3 separate regions of the Homo sapiens genome follow, and regions 2 and 3 are each linked to region 1. The links are contacts of gene promoters, found by promoter capture Hi-C in blood cells and fetal thymus (Javierre and others, 2016). All regions are on one chromosome and are shown on one strand. Each heading gives the region's core, a stretch centred on a gene start or on the middle of the fragment in contact. The rest is flanking DNA. Distances are from core to core; before and after follow the strand shown. Region 1 holds the start of PRKCQ (protein kinase C theta). Region 2 overlaps IL2RA (interleukin 2 receptor subunit alpha). Region 3 overlaps IL2RA (interleukin 2 receptor subunit alpha).

What was found. The method cuts DNA at HindIII sites, captures the fragments that hold promoters and counts their contacts. A CHiCAGO score of 5 or more calls a contact.
Region 2: a fragment that was not itself captured here is called in contact with the fragment with the promoter of PRKCQ in region 1 in 1 of 17 cell types (non-activated CD4 T cells); the score reaches 6.1 in non-activated CD4 T cells.
Region 3: a fragment that was not itself captured here is called in contact with the fragment with the promoter of PRKCQ in region 1 in 1 of 17 cell types (non-activated CD4 T cells); the score reaches 5.4 in non-activated CD4 T cells.

Annotation. Positions count from the first base shown.
Region 1 is chr10:6,577,947-6,582,812 of GRCh38, forward strand. It overlaps PRKCQ (protein kinase C theta), which reads right to left and starts at 2,330. Exons shown (of 18, transcript NM_006257.5): 1 at 2,265-2,330. PRKCQ-AS1 (PRKCQ antisense RNA 1) reads left to right here and starts at 2,479. Exons shown (of 2, transcript NR_036503.1): 1 at 2,479-2,981. RefSeq lists silencers at 2,332-2,581, 2,592-2,741. The HindIII fragment of the contact is 7,587 bases long and covers 1-4,085 here.
Region 2 is chr10:6,026,395-6,031,260 of GRCh38, forward strand. All of the region lies in intron 1 of IL2RA (interleukin 2 receptor subunit alpha), which reads right to left. Among named protein-coding and RNA genes, the nearest start is that of IL2RA-AS1, 6.6 kb to the right of the region's middle. The HindIII fragment of the contact is 3,660 bases long and covers 539-4,198 here.
Region 3 is chr10:6,046,751-6,051,616 of GRCh38, forward strand. All of the region lies in intron 1 of IL2RA (interleukin 2 receptor subunit alpha), which reads right to left. Among named protein-coding and RNA genes, the nearest start is that of IL2RA, 13 kb to the right of the region's middle. RefSeq lists enhancers at 3,875-4,254, 4,265-4,394, 4,485-4,754. The HindIII fragment of the contact is 9,510 bases long and covers 1-4,866 here.

The DNA.
Region 1 (4,866 bases), core at 1,080-3,579:
CACATGGAATTTTGGTTAAAACATCTAATTCATTGCAGAGAAGAATTTAGTCTTTTCCACGGAAGAGACAGCATGTGTTAGAATGAGAATACTTTATAGAAATGACCAGTGACAAGCCGGCTATGTAAGGGGGCTTCTGATGCCTGGCGTTAACAAGAGACAGAGAGTATTATTGTTGAAAGGGATCTTTGAGATTACAGAAGGAGCTGAGGTGTGAATAATCGAACACCATCCCCTTGTTGCCTGAAGGAGAAGTGAGACAGCAAAACAAATCAAATTTCCAGGAGCTGCACCGTGTATGGTGAGCGAAGACGCAATGAGGACATGTCTGTAGGAGAACAGAGGTAGAAGTTAGCTCCTCAAGTAACAGTTGCCATCCCGAGGCACCACAGCACAAGACAGTAGCGGAAATGAACATGACAACGCGGATGGTGGGTGACAAGAGTCTTGCCTGGATATTGACATTTTTAAAGTGTAGAAGAAAATCGCAGGTCACTGAAACAAAGGCTGATGGTGCCCAGCAGGTTACTCTTGAAATCAGAAACAGAAGTTCATGAGAGGCAAGAAGACAGAAACAACAACTGAAAAACTTAGAGTGGATCGCTAACTTGCAGGAGCTGTGCAGCTTTGGCTTTGCAGGTTTTAGAAGCTCTCCCTACGCCACGTCTTTAAATATATGTATGTTCAATCAGCAGGAGGAAGGGACTAACAAGAGCCTTCTGCGGTAAGCACCTGCATCAAACAATGGCACTGATCTCAGAGGGATTTTAAACAGCTGTGCATAAACTTCAAAAGTAATTTGCAACCATATTAGTAAATGTCACTCTTCTTCCCGCTAGACACAGCACTTTTAAAAGAGATTAAGCATCCGCAGTAAGCCTGCCATTTTACAAGGGTTACCAAAGATAAGTTAGGGAAAATATGAAGATGATGATTCACAAGGTCGGGGTGTGGGGTGGGGTGGGGGACCCAGGACCTTAGGAATAGGGCTTGTCTATCACACAGCCTCGGGCAAGAAGGGCCCAGTGGGGACCATGGCTTCTAGGGAGCAAACCAAGGGAAAAGAGCAACGGAGTGGACCCTCCAGGCTTCTTGCCTCTCTCACGGAGCCTCACGAATCCCAGTGGTTTAGAATTTTCTTTGGCAAAAGAAAAGGTCAAAGAGGCCGGAGTTGACAGAAAGCATGGGCGGACTTCTCAGATCTTGTAGGTGGTTCTTAAAAGAATTCAGCAGGCTTGAGGTGTGCTCTCAAAGGGCAACTGGAACGTCAAGGACTTGGACACCAGGCACAGATGGTTCATTTCCCATGGACAGGAAGAGGGCACGGAGTGCTCCCTCTTCCCTCCACCTTCTCCAGCCTAGTCCCCCTCAGCCTGTGCCACTCCTGAATCATCTTTTATAGCACCACGTCCAGCCCGCACAGGGGCAGGACAGCCCAGGGAACAAGGCAGTCCTGTGGCGCTCTCCTTGCAGAAATGACCGGAGTCTCCCAATCCAGCCAGCCCGTGGACCTCTCTTCATGCCCACGGGGGAGTGCACACGCCTGTAGCATTCAACAGTCACTCTCCCATTGATAACGGTGGCTCTCGAAAATCCAATACCACAAAGATACTTTATTGCACAAACTTTGCTTGGTTAACCTGGCCCTCAAAGCTGGGGAATAACCTCACTTGAGGCTACAGGAATGAGCACGCAGATTTTTCTTTTTTTTTTTTTTTTGGTATCTTTCAAAGACCTGCCTCCCCCTCCCCCAGGCCCTTGACCAGAAACTTGGCTTGTTTAGAAGCCTGAGCAATGGCACCCCCGTCCGTGCTCCAATACATTCCCAGAAAAGGGGTTATGCTCCCCTGTGGACAGGATACCATCTCCAGAAAACATGTTTCCTCACGCATTTTTTTTTTTTTTTTTTACCAAGAATACAAAAACTTTCCACCTTCTTCCCTCCCCGCAGGCCCCCTTTCGTTCAGGTGAGAAGGAAAAGGGAGAAGAAAGGAGGAAGCGCCCCCAGGCCGGCGGCCCCCACCCGGCTAAGGTCGCCAGCATCCCGCATCCCGTGCGACCTGCGTCCCAGAAACCCAGCGGGGAAATTCTTCCCGGTGCGCTCTTGCGCCCGCTTGGTTCCATTTCCTACTCCGCCTGCTCACCCGGCAGCCCTCACCCCTTCCCGGAGGCTCTCCGAGGGGCCCGGGTAGCCCTTCTCGCCACGGGTCTCGGCCCCTCCAGCCCGCTCCCTCCCGGCGGCGGCGCGGGGCGCGGGGCCCTACCTGGAGCGAGCACGGCGCCGCTGCTGCCCGGTGGCGCTGGGACTGCGCGGGGACTGCGCGGGGACTGCGCGGGGACTGGCGGGGCTGGCGGGGCTGGCGGGGCTGGCGGGGCTGGCGGGCCCGGCGCACTGCGGGTGCGCCTAGAAGGCGGTGCCCGCCAGGGGGCGCTCGCCAGCCTCCCCGCCAGCCCGGCCTCCCGGGACCCGGCACCTCTAGCCAGGGACGCGCGCTCGGTCCCCCGCCGTGCGCCCCCGGTCCCGCGCCCAGGCTCCCGCCCCTGGCCTCCTTACCAGCCACTTGTCGCCCAGCTGCGAACTGGAGCGGGAGGCGGCGGCCGGAGGGCCCAGGACAGCCCCGGGAGGGCGGCGAGGCGGAGCAGGAGCGCCCCGGCTCCGGCCACATTCTCAGAGTCAGGAAAAGGGGCGAGAGGCCACATGTCTCCCTCTCGCCCAACTGAAAACGAAACGGCGCTCCAGCAGATTGGGTGGAAAGAGCTGGGTCTCTTTTCTCTGTTTTTCACGCTAGAAAGGGCTTGTAAACATTGTTCCTTTTAAAATGACCTACCCCAGGCATTTGTTTGGGCACACTTCTGTCCTGGGGTCATCGTTCCTAGGTGGCTTCGGACCTGGGACTTTTCCTGTATCTGCACATTGTCGTTTTATACACAATTGCCAAGGTGGGACTGCTTTCAACTTTACTGTGCTTGAAGCTGCAAAGGTAATGTTGCCGCCGTGCGTGTCATTTTAGGACTTTTTATGCCTTGCGGGTAATACTAATGATGGTCACAGGGAGGATAAACGGGGTGGTTTCTTTTTCTATACTCCATGTAACTAATTTCTCATTCAGGTTAGAAAATTATATGTCTGGTTACTAATATTCTTACTGAATGGTTTCCTTGCAATGATGACACCAAATAATTAAAACGTACTTGATTAAGACTTTTGTTGCTGTAGTGTACTAAGATCAGATTAATCTGAGAAGTAAAATAGTAATTTTTTGTCCTTTTTTCTTTTCTTGTTTTGAGAGAGACATTAAAAACGATTAAAACAAAACAAAACAGGCCAGGTGCGGTGGCTCATGCCTGTAATGCCAGCACTTTGGGAGGCTGAGGCGGGTGGATCGCTTGAGGCTGGGAGTTTGAGACCAGCCTGGCCAACATGGCAAAATCGTGTCTCTCCTAAAAATACAAAAATTAGCTGGGTGTTGTGGCACGTGCCAGTAATCCCAGCTACTCAGAAGGCTGAGGCAGGAGAATCGTTTGAACCTGGGAGGAGGAGGTTGCAGTGAGCTGAGATCTCACCACTGCACTGCAGTCTGGGTGACAGCAAAACTCTGCCTCAAAAAAAAAAAAGGTTTAACAAAAGCCAAAAGTTGAATTAGCAGCCTTCTGATCATGGGAATGTAGGATGTCAACTAAAAAGAACCTCAGAGGTTGGGAAGGCAGATGAAAAACTGAGGCCCCGAAGTGTTTCAAGACTTGATTAAATCACTCAGGTCTGCACTAGGAAGCGAGTTATGATGATGCCCCTAATCTATATGAACCCAAATAAAGCCAAAACACACACACCTTTTAAGGATAAAACTATATTCCATTAAAATTAGCCCCGCATTTGTCAATATCTAACAGCATTGGACTGACCCTCAGGCCAGAGGCTGTAGCTCTTGGAAGATCCTAGCCAGGAGGTTTGAGAGTGGCCAGTACCTCGGAAGTGCTGGCTCACTCTGACATCATCAGAACCTGGCATACAGTAGGCGCTCATTGGGTATTTGCTATGGAAATTAGGCAGGAAAGTGCGTCTGTGTCTGGAAACAAAGAGGCAAAGCTTAAGCAGTGATCCCCATGCAGATTCTTTCTGCAAACTACAAAACAGAAGCTTCCCTAGTTCAGACTGCCATCCATCTGGCTCTTTCTCCAATTGTTTTTCAGCGGATCCTGTTACAGTGCAAAGAAGAAATGGCAAACGGATAACAGCTACTGTGCCTAGAAGATGGTAGATTCCTCACGCTCCATATCTGGGTTTCTCATTGACAATTAGGCACTGAAAGGAAGCTCATATGTCCTGTTAATTTAATCAGTAGTTAGTGGCTTTAGAAAAAGTTTCATATATACACCAGGTATGATAAGGACTTTTTTTTTTCTTTTTGAGACAGAGTCTTGCTGTGTTGCCCAGGATGGAGTGCAGCGGCGTGATCATAGCTCACTGCAGTTTTGATCCCCCAGGACTCAAGTTATCCTCTCACCTCAGCCTCCCAAATAGCTGGGACTACAGGCACACATCACCATGACCAAGCTAATATTTAAAAAGATTTTTTTGTAGAGACGGGGTCTCACTATGTTGCCCAGGCTGGTTTAAAACTCCTGGGCTCAAGTGATGCTCCTACCTCAGCTTCCCAAAATGCTGGGATTATCGGGGTGAGCCACCATGCCCAGCCTGTGATGACTTTAGACGCACTACTCATATAATATTCATAATCTGATGTGATATGTATCATCATCATTATCATCTCTCTTTAACAGAAGAGACTAACAAGGCTTAGAAAGGTTATGTACCTCGCTCAAGATCCCACAATTACTAAAGTACCAGAACCAAGATTCAAACCC
Region 2 (4,866 bases), core at 1,119-3,618, 550 kb before region 1:
TGTCTGTGCAAGATACTTTTAAGGATATACGAGTTGTTAGACTTTCTATAATTAATGACTGTGCGCCATTTTTTGAGAAATATACAGAAAGTGCTTCACTCAATGTCTGGCAAATAGGAAATGTGTATTTCTCACCCACCTGCCCACCTCTGAGTTCACCAAATACCTTCTTATATTATGAAGACCTTAGCCTCCCTCAGCCTGAAAAATGGACTCTGGTATCTCACTAAAGGCACCAGAAGCAGTGGTCAAACATCAAACTATTAAAAGGAAAAGTGGCACAGGTCTAATCAGAAAAATAATTCCATTGCCTACTTTGCAACAAGTTCTCTGCTCTAAGAGATTAGATTTTGGGGGGAAATATCACATGCTGGATAAAGGAAGTGGACGGGGAGATGACAGGGACAGGAAGAGGCAGGAAAGCAGGAGTCTGTGGCCTCTCCGTCAATGGAAGCCCACACGGAGGCTGATCAGGGCTGCTGGCTGTACTTATGGCTGTGGGTTGGCCGGTTGTGTATTGGTCATTCAGGTTAAGTGAAGCTTCTCTGTGCCCTTAGACTCTGCCCAGCACCTTGTCCTCCGGAAGACCATCCCCATCCAATGGCTCAGGACTCTCCTGTCTCCCCTAAGAACTGAAGGTAGGGAGGCTGGGTGCAATGGCTCATGCCTGTAATTCCAGCACTTTGGGAGGCCAAGGCGGGTAGATCACATGAGGTCAGCAGTTCAAAACCAGCCTGGCCAGCATGGTGAAAACCACAGTCTCTACTAAAAATACAAAAAAATTAGCCGGGCGTGGTGGCATGTGCCTGTGGTCCCAGTTACTTGGGAGGCTGAGGCAGGAGAATCACTTGAACCCAGGAGGCAGAGGTTGCAGTGGGCCGAGATCACGCCACTGCACTCCAGCCTGGGAAACCCAGCAAGACTCTGTCTCAAAAAAAAAAACGAAGATAGGGAGAAATCAGACAGCTTGGCCCATCTCTAACCAACAAGGGACTAAGCAAAAGCAATTTAAATGGGCTCCATGGGCCAGAAATTACAGTGGAACAGGCAACATAAGTGCTCAATAAATGCTGGTAATCTCATGATAAGGCAAGAGCAGCAGCATGGTGGGAAGGAGAAAGATGGGTTTCTAACTTCTAGCTCCAGCAGCTTACAAGCTACATAGTTTTATTATTTTACTTCTCTAAGGCTCAGCTTCGTGCTGTAATAATTATTATTTTATTGATTTAATGATTATAGCAAATAATATACTAAGGTAACTTGAAGAAAGCCTGGAAAATAACAGGTATGGAATAGATGGTAGTTCTGTTCCTTTCCTTTTTCTCACTGTCCAGAAGAAGAGAATGGTAATTCAGATAGAGACTGGACTGAAGTTTACCTTAACCTTTAACTCCTGCAAAAGTTTGTCTCTCTGTACTTCTCATATCACTGGTACCATTTGTTGGCACTTATTATGGATCAACACCAACCAATATTTTAAGTATCAGAAGATAAATCTGTTACTAAAGCAAGACATGGATAATAATCAGAAAAACCAGTGAAGACTTCTGCTTCCAGCCATCACAGAGTAACTGGGACCAAAACTTACGTTTCTGCTGAAACAGCTGTAAAACCAGTCCAAATGTATACAGCAAGTGCTTTCAGGTGCTGAACAACAGGCAGCTCAGGGCTACATGATTTTGGAGGAGGGAAACACGTGAGAGGCGCCCACAGTTGCCCTGGCTTCCTTCCTGGGGTGCTTTCCTTCCCGGCAGCACCCAGGTGGAACCCAAGCAGAGTGGTTTCATTGACGTGACATGACTGGGATTTGTGGGGTGGGGCTCTGGAGAGGACACTGCATGAAGGTCGCCCCAAAATTATGTATAGGGGTCCACCTCAGGTTCTTAGCCAAGAGCTGGTCTGAACCTGAACAGGGCAGAACTCAGTGAAACTTAGCCCTGATTGTCCATTGTGAGGGCTGAGAGAAGAAGAGTTATGCTAAGTTTTATTTATAAAAACAGGTGTCTGAGCTGTGGGTTGTAGTTTTCCAATCCTGCTTTAGAGAAAGAGGCATCCCTAGGATGAATTTCAAAACCAAAATAGACCTGCCCTTACAAAGATTAAAACCAAGCCTAATAGACAAGAGGATGCGCTAGTCATTTAACTGCCTGGCAGAGCAAAATGCATTACCTTTTAAAGGACCATAAGATAATCTAGACCCTTTATAATGTATAGCTCATAATATCCAGCAAATTAAAAGAAAATCTAGACATGTGAAGAAACAGGAAAATGTGACATACTTGACCTACTCAAAAAAGTGCTCAATAGAAACAGACCCGTAAAATTGGGTGTGGTGGCTCATGCCTGTAATCCCAGCACTTTGGGGCGACAAGGCAGGCGGATCATCTGAGGTCAGGAGTTCCAGACCAGCCTGGCCAGCATGGTGACATCCCATCTATACTAAAAATACAAAAGATCAGCCGAGTGTGGCAGCGCATGTCTGTAGTCCCAGGTACTTGGGAGGCTGAGGCAGGAGAATTGCTTGAGCCTGGGAGGTGGAGGTTGCAGTCAGCCGAGCACCCCAGCCTGGGTTACAGAGTGAGTGAGAGTCTGTCTCAAAAAAAAAAAAAAAAGACCCCTAAAATGACCTAGATTTTGGAATTAGCACAAAAGGAATTTAAAACAGTTGTAATTACACTCAATGACTTAAAGCAGAGGTCAGTAAACTATGACCTGCAGATTTGCTGCCATTTATTTTATTTATTTATTTATTTATTTATTTATTTATTTATTTATTTATTTATTTTTGAGACAGAGTTTCGCTCTTGTTGCCCAGGCTGGAGTGCAATGGTGCAATCTTGACTCACTGCAACCTCTGCCCCCCGGGTTCAAGCGATTCTCCTGCCTCAGCCTCCCAAGTAGCTGGGATTATAGGTGTGCGCCAACACGTCTGGCTACTTTTTGTGTTTTTAGTAGAGATGAGGTTTCACCACGTTTGCCAGGCTGGTCTCGAACTCCTGACCTCAGGTGATCCACCTGCCTCGGCCTCCCAAAGTGCTAGGATTACAGGAGTGAGACACTGTGTTCAGTGGTTTATTTTTATAAATAAAGTTTTATTGGAAGAAAGACACACCCATTTATTTACATTTTGTCTATGGCTGCTTTTCTGCTATAATGGCAGAGTTGAGTAGTTGCAGTGGAGTAACATCGCCAGGTAGCCTAAAATATTTACTCTCTGGCCCTTTCAGAAAAAAAATTGCCAACTGCTAATTTAAAGAAAAAATGGTTATAATGAGTGAAACAACAGGATATCTCAGTAGATAAATGAAAACTTGTAATTTTTTTTTTTGAGATGGAGTCTTGCTCTGTTGCCCAGGCTGGAGTGCAGTGGCACAATCTTGGCTCACTGAAACCTCTGCCTCCCAGATTCAAGTGATTCTTCTGCCTCAGCCTCCCAAATAGCTTGGATTACGGGCACATGCCATCATACATGGCTAATTTTTGTATTTTTAGTAGAGATGGGGTTTCACCATGTTGACCAGGCTGGTCTCGAATTCCTGACCTCAGATGATCCACCTGCCTTGGCCTCCCAAAGTGCTGGGATTACAGGTGTGAGCCACCGTGCCCAGCCAATATTTTTAAACATAAAAAATTAAAACTAAAAGTTACAATATCTGAAATGAGCCTAGCCGGGGCTTGAAGGCAAATCAATAGAAATTATCCAAACTGATGAACACAAGAAATCTGAAAAAGAATGGACCTTTGGCATGCTGTAAGACAATATTAAATAGCCTAACCTACATTTAATTGAATTCCCAATGATAGAGAAGAGAAAGAATGGAGCAGAAAAAATATATGAAGAAATAATGGCCAAAAATTTTTGAAATTTGATGACAGATACTGATTTACAGATCCAGATGTTCACGGCACCAAGCAAGATACGTATAAAGAAAAGCCCATCTATATACATCGTAGCTAAACTGCTGAAAACCAAAGATAATGAGAAAATCTTAAAAGTGGCCAGAGGGAAAGGACACGTACCTACAGCGGAACGATGATGAATAACAACTGACTTCTCAACAGAAACAATAGAAGCAGAAAATAATGGCACAACATATTCAAAGTTTTAAAAGAAAAAAACCCGTCAACCTTGAAATCTACCTAGAGACAATATCCTCTAAAAATGAGGGTGAATTTAGTATATTTTCAGATAAAAGAAAGCTTAGAGAATTTATTATGGCACATCTGCATTACACTAAAGAAAAATTTTCAAGCAAAAGAGAAATTACACTAGCTAGAAACATAAATCGACATGAAGTAATAAAGAACACGTAAATATTTAGATAAGTGAAAAGGCCACTTTTTGTTTTTAACATCTTTGAAAGACAACTGTTTAAAACAAAAATAATAATATGGTATGGTGGGTTCTGTTGAACATGTAAATGTAAAATATACAGCAGTCCTAGTATAAAAGTTAGGGAGAATGGAATTGTACTGTTTTAGGTTTTTATATCATATAGAAAATGGTACAATATTAAGTAAGTAGATAGTGATAAGTTAAGGATTCATGCTGAATAGCCTAGAGAAACCACCAAATAATACCACAAAGAGTGTAGCTAAAAAGAATATTAAATTTGTTTGGTTAGCCAAACTGAAGAGAGAAAAGGAAGAATAGAGTAATAAAAATAGAAAAGGAACAGCTAAGAAACAGATAGCAAGAAGGTAGACTTGAAGCCAACCCTATCAGTAATTACATTAAATATAAATGGACAAAAATCCATACTTTAAGAGATAGAAACTTTCAGACTGGATTAAACAGCAGGGCCCAACTATATGCTGTCTTCAAGAGAACACACTTTAAATACAATAAAAATGATGGGTTGAGAA
Region 3 (4,866 bases), core at 696-3,195, 530 kb before region 1:
ACACACAACATTTGATCTCTGATAGTTTCAGTGGGTGGGTTCTATTCTTTTCAACAGATACCTCAGGGTTAGTGGGGGTGAGCTCAGATGCTCCTGCAATGGGCATTCACACTGGGCTTCTTGGAGAGCTGAATTCCAAGGTGGCCACGTTTCCTAAGGACATGGGAACTTAAGATGCAGGCAGGGATCCCATGTCCTACTGGAAGGTTTAAAGACTTCCTCAGCACAGTGCTGAGAAGATCCTGCTTTTTACTCGGGTGTGGGACAAGTAGTTATGAAGCCACAGAATGTTAGGACTGAAAGGGACAAAGACCCTCTCCATGTCTCTGCATGCTTGCATGGAGAACATGCATTGTCCAAGGACCCTCAAATCCCTGCATGCCCTGCGCATGCCCTAACCCTGAGGAGGTGCTGAACCCTTGCTGATGTGCAGAAGGGGTTAATCAGACCATGTGGACACAGGTAGCCCAAGGAACAACCCCCATGCCAACAGCACTCCATCCCGACCTCATACCATGTGCACAGCACCTGATGCTGGTGGGGTCAGGAGTGTGGCCTGTGCCACACTCAGAACGCGGGATGAACATAGAGGAAACACTAGAATGGCAAAGGCTGGTTGTCACCTGGGGGCCTCAGAAGCCACGGCACCAGAGGAGAGCTCAGGAGTCAGCCTGCTCCAAAGCTCTTCCTGCCTGTAGCATGCACCCTGTGCCTCCGGGCCACCAAAAACAGCAATCACGTCAGCTGAGACGCAACACACTGCATGCCGAACACACAGGAGAGCTCACACGCACAAATGTTCTCGGCTTCCCAGACACCAATGAAGGAGCTTATTATGAATATGAAGGATAATTAACGTATCTATTATTTTATTAGACATCACAATTCAAATACAATAAAGTATATAAATATAAATATATAATAAATGAAATATATAAAATACCATCTTAGCTTATGAAATTATCTTATATGATAAAATAATTATACAGATATATAATAAGCAATTAGGGTATGTTATATAAAATACTATAGTATACTCATTAATATAATTAGTATATTATATGATAAATATATATAATAAAAGACATCATACACTAATAGAGTATAATAGTCAATATAATTAAAATTATTACTTATGCAGTAATTAATTATGAGGTGATGTGTTCTTCTCATCTCCGTTCTCTAGAGGCAGGAACTAAGGCACAGAGAGGCCCAGTGACTTGCCCAGAGACACACAGCCCCTCAGTGGTGGAGCTAGGACTTGGACCCAGGCAGCCTGACAAGTGCGTGCTCTTACGCACAAGTGTCTGCCTGTCCTCCCGCCTATCCTCCCTCATGTGCTGGCTGCATCCTGCTCCCGTGGCCCCTGACCCTCAACTGCCCTTGTCATGTGCCCGTCATGCATCACAGGAAGGCTGTCATGGGAGTCCTGAGGTGGGTGGTGATAAGTAAGCAAGAAGAGGGGTTGCTGGCGTTAAGAGATTTTAGAAGTTGGAATTGCCAAAAATTGAGGCTGGATTATTAGGTGCATGGAGGACAGCAAGGAAGAAATGAGGATTTTGCCCAGATTTCCTGGGCGATGGGGAGGATGGGGTGCCATTCATTGAGATAGCAAAGAGAGGAGAAAGAGTAGGTTCCAGGGAGGGAGGACAGTTCTGGATGTGTAGACTGAGCAGCCTGTGAGGCATCCACACGGAAAGGTCCGAGGGAAGGGCCTTTGGCCATGCAGACTAGAAGCCCAGCAAGTCACATTTAGTGAGCACCTACTGTGTGCTCTGGTCACTCTAGGCAGGCTAGCTTATGTAGCCTTACAGCACCCAGCAGGGTCTGTGTTATTCCCATTTTATACGAACAGAAGCTGAGGCCCACCGAGGTTAAAACCCTACCCTCATGGACTTCCATGGAGGTTACTCAATGCCCTATGGGTTTGCCTTTCTGCTTCCCTTCATTCTTCACATAAACCCAGTGCTTTCTCTTCTTCCTTCATTCTTCACATAAACCCAATGCTGTCTCTCCAAAGTACAAGCCATGCCCTGACTGAGACCCCTCTGGGATGTTCTGTTCCTTCCAGGACACAGTTTAAGCCCAGTGACATGGGGAGACTCCAAGACACAGCTCATGCCCAACTTCAAAATCTCTGCTTCCACTATGTGCCTGAGCTCTCCTGCCTTGCGGGACTCTGCGTGGCTCTTGGAGCTCACCATGTGTTTTGTCTTGGGCCTTGGTCATTGTATTATTCAGGGAAACAGAATTTCTCTAGAGAAACAAAACCAATAGGATGTATGTAGATAAATAAGAGAATATTTATAATGGGAGTTGGCTCACTCAATTATGGAGGCTGAGAAGTCCCACAATATGCCAGCTGGAGCTGGATAACTAGGAAAGCTGGTGGTGTGGCTCAGTCTAAGACTGAAGGCCTGAGGAGCAGAGGGGCCCTGCTGTAAGTCCCAGAGTCCAAAAGCTGGAGAACCAGGAGTGCAAATGTCCAAGAGCAGACGACGGATGTCCCAGCTTGAACAGAGAGAATGCAACCTTCCTCTGCCTTCTTGTTCTATTCTGGTCCTCTATGGTTGGATGATCCCCACCACACTGGTGAGGGTGATTTTCTTTACTCAGTCTACCAACAAGAAATTTACCCAGTCTATTCAATTCAAATGCTAGTGTCTCCTGGAAATACCCTCACAGACACCCCCAGAGAGACTGTTTAGCCAGCTATCTGGGCATCCCTTAGCCCAGGCAAGTGGACACATTGAAATTGACCATCATGCTCATGCCACACTTCCCTAATGCATTTCTACCTTCTTAACTCCTGCTTTCCCTGGAGGTCTCCCATTGGCTGTCATCTTTCTCTGGGAAGCCTCCGGGACTCTTCTGTCTGTGCTTTGTGGCATTTCTCTGCAGTCCCAGACTTTGCTCCCTTTTCTTTACACGGCACTCACCCTACTGTATCCATCTCCCTCCCACCACCTTGCTAGTGCCTGCACAGAATGGCATGCAAAGGTTTTCGTAAAGGAAAGTAGAAATTCACAAGTTCAAGCTAGGATTTGAATTCAAGCTGTCAACTTTCCAAATTCATAAGACTTTTCCATTCTCTCAAGACGCTTTTCTGGTTGGGAAAAATTCCGGTAGGCAGACAAGATGGGGAAGATTGTTCCAGTAAGGGAGGAGGGTGTTCCTGGGAGTCCAGCTTTGAAATCACAAATGAGGAGGTTCCCTTTGAAGGACAGGAGGAGACCTGCTGGCCAAGGCGTGCTATGTGCTGAGGGAACAGTCTTGGCTGGGGAGCATGTTGTGTGCCAGGCAGAGGAGGTAGCAAAGTGCCCCTGAGGCAATGGAAATGACTGGAGCTCTTGCAGCCGAAAGGGCATCACGACAGGTGCTTTCAGGGGAGATTAACTTGGGGATGAATAACAGGGTGACTGAAAACCAGAGCTTCAGGGCCTGCCTAGGCAGCCCAGGAGATGAACAGTGCCTGTTGACAGCTTGCTTCCTGTGTCGGCCTGAATGCATGGGTTCTGCTCAGATCTACTGGCTCCTTGCTTTCTTGGGAGAGTGAATTACTGCCTCATGGTCTCAGTTTCCTCATCCGTAAAATGGGAATGGTGGCAGGGCGTGGTGGCTCAAGCCTGTAATCCCAGCACTTTGGGAGGCTGAGACTGGTGGATCAATTGAGGTCAGGAGTTTGAGACCAGCCTGGCCAACATGGTCTCTACTAACCTGTCTCTACTAAAAATACAAAAATTAGTCAGGCATGGCGATGGGGCATGCCTGTAATCCCAGCTACTGGGGAGGCTGAGGCATGAGAATCTCTTGAACCCGGGAGGCAGAGGTTGCAGTGAGCCGAGATCATACCACTGCACTCCAGTCTGGGCAACAGAGTGAGACTCTGTCTCAAAAAAAAGGTGGTTGGGGTGGGGGAATAGTGCTAACAGTCCCCATCTCCTATGGTGGCCATGAGGAATCTGTAAGATCACAGAAGCAGAGCACGCAGCAAGGCCTCCCTGGCCCGGGAGTGCTCAGAGCTGGGATCCCAGTGCAGGACGAGGAGGAGGAGGATGGGTGCCCTGGCTACAGGTCCTCTTGCACTAGATTGAAAACGGGGCCAGAGAAGCAGAGCTTGAGAGACGCTGGGAGAGGGAAAGTGAAACTGATGGTCCGGTGGGTGAAAGGTAGTGAAAGCCCGAAGTGCAGTAAACCAGGGATCAACATCTCCAGCCAAAAGGCTCACCCTGTGGTCTCAGCGCCACCTGGGCGTCAGACAGATGTCTGGAGAGACGGCTCTTTTATTCTGAAACACCCCTCCAACTTTTTTTTTTTTTTGGTAATTGTTTGTTTTGCTTTCCATTTAATATAAGGAGTTTTCTCCTTTACAAAAGTTCTTTTTGTTCTAAATCAGGCTGTAAACAGAGGTGCTACCACAAGGACCGGAAGCAGAGACCACACTGGTGCTCAGCTGGGTTGCAGGCTCTGCCTGGTTTCATTGTCGGGGAAGCCACCAGGCCTGCCCCCAGCCAGCGAGATGTCACGCATGCAGCCGGGTGTCATCCCCAAAACTCCCGGGAAACTCTCGGGGCACCAGGGCAGGAAGAGGCTGACGTCAACTTTAACTCCGGGGACTTCAAACGAAACTTTTAGAAATGATTCCTTTGCCCTTTACTTGGTGACGTAATAAACTGATCTTTCTCTGAAAAGATGGGCCGATTTGCTTCAAGGAGCTCATTTCATGAGGAGAAAATACACACAAATATATATATATATATATATATATTTTTTTTCTTTTTTTTTTTGAGACGGAGTTTCCCTCTGTCACCCAGGCTGGAGTGCAGTGGCTCAATCTCGGCTCACTGCAACCTCAGCCTCCAGGTT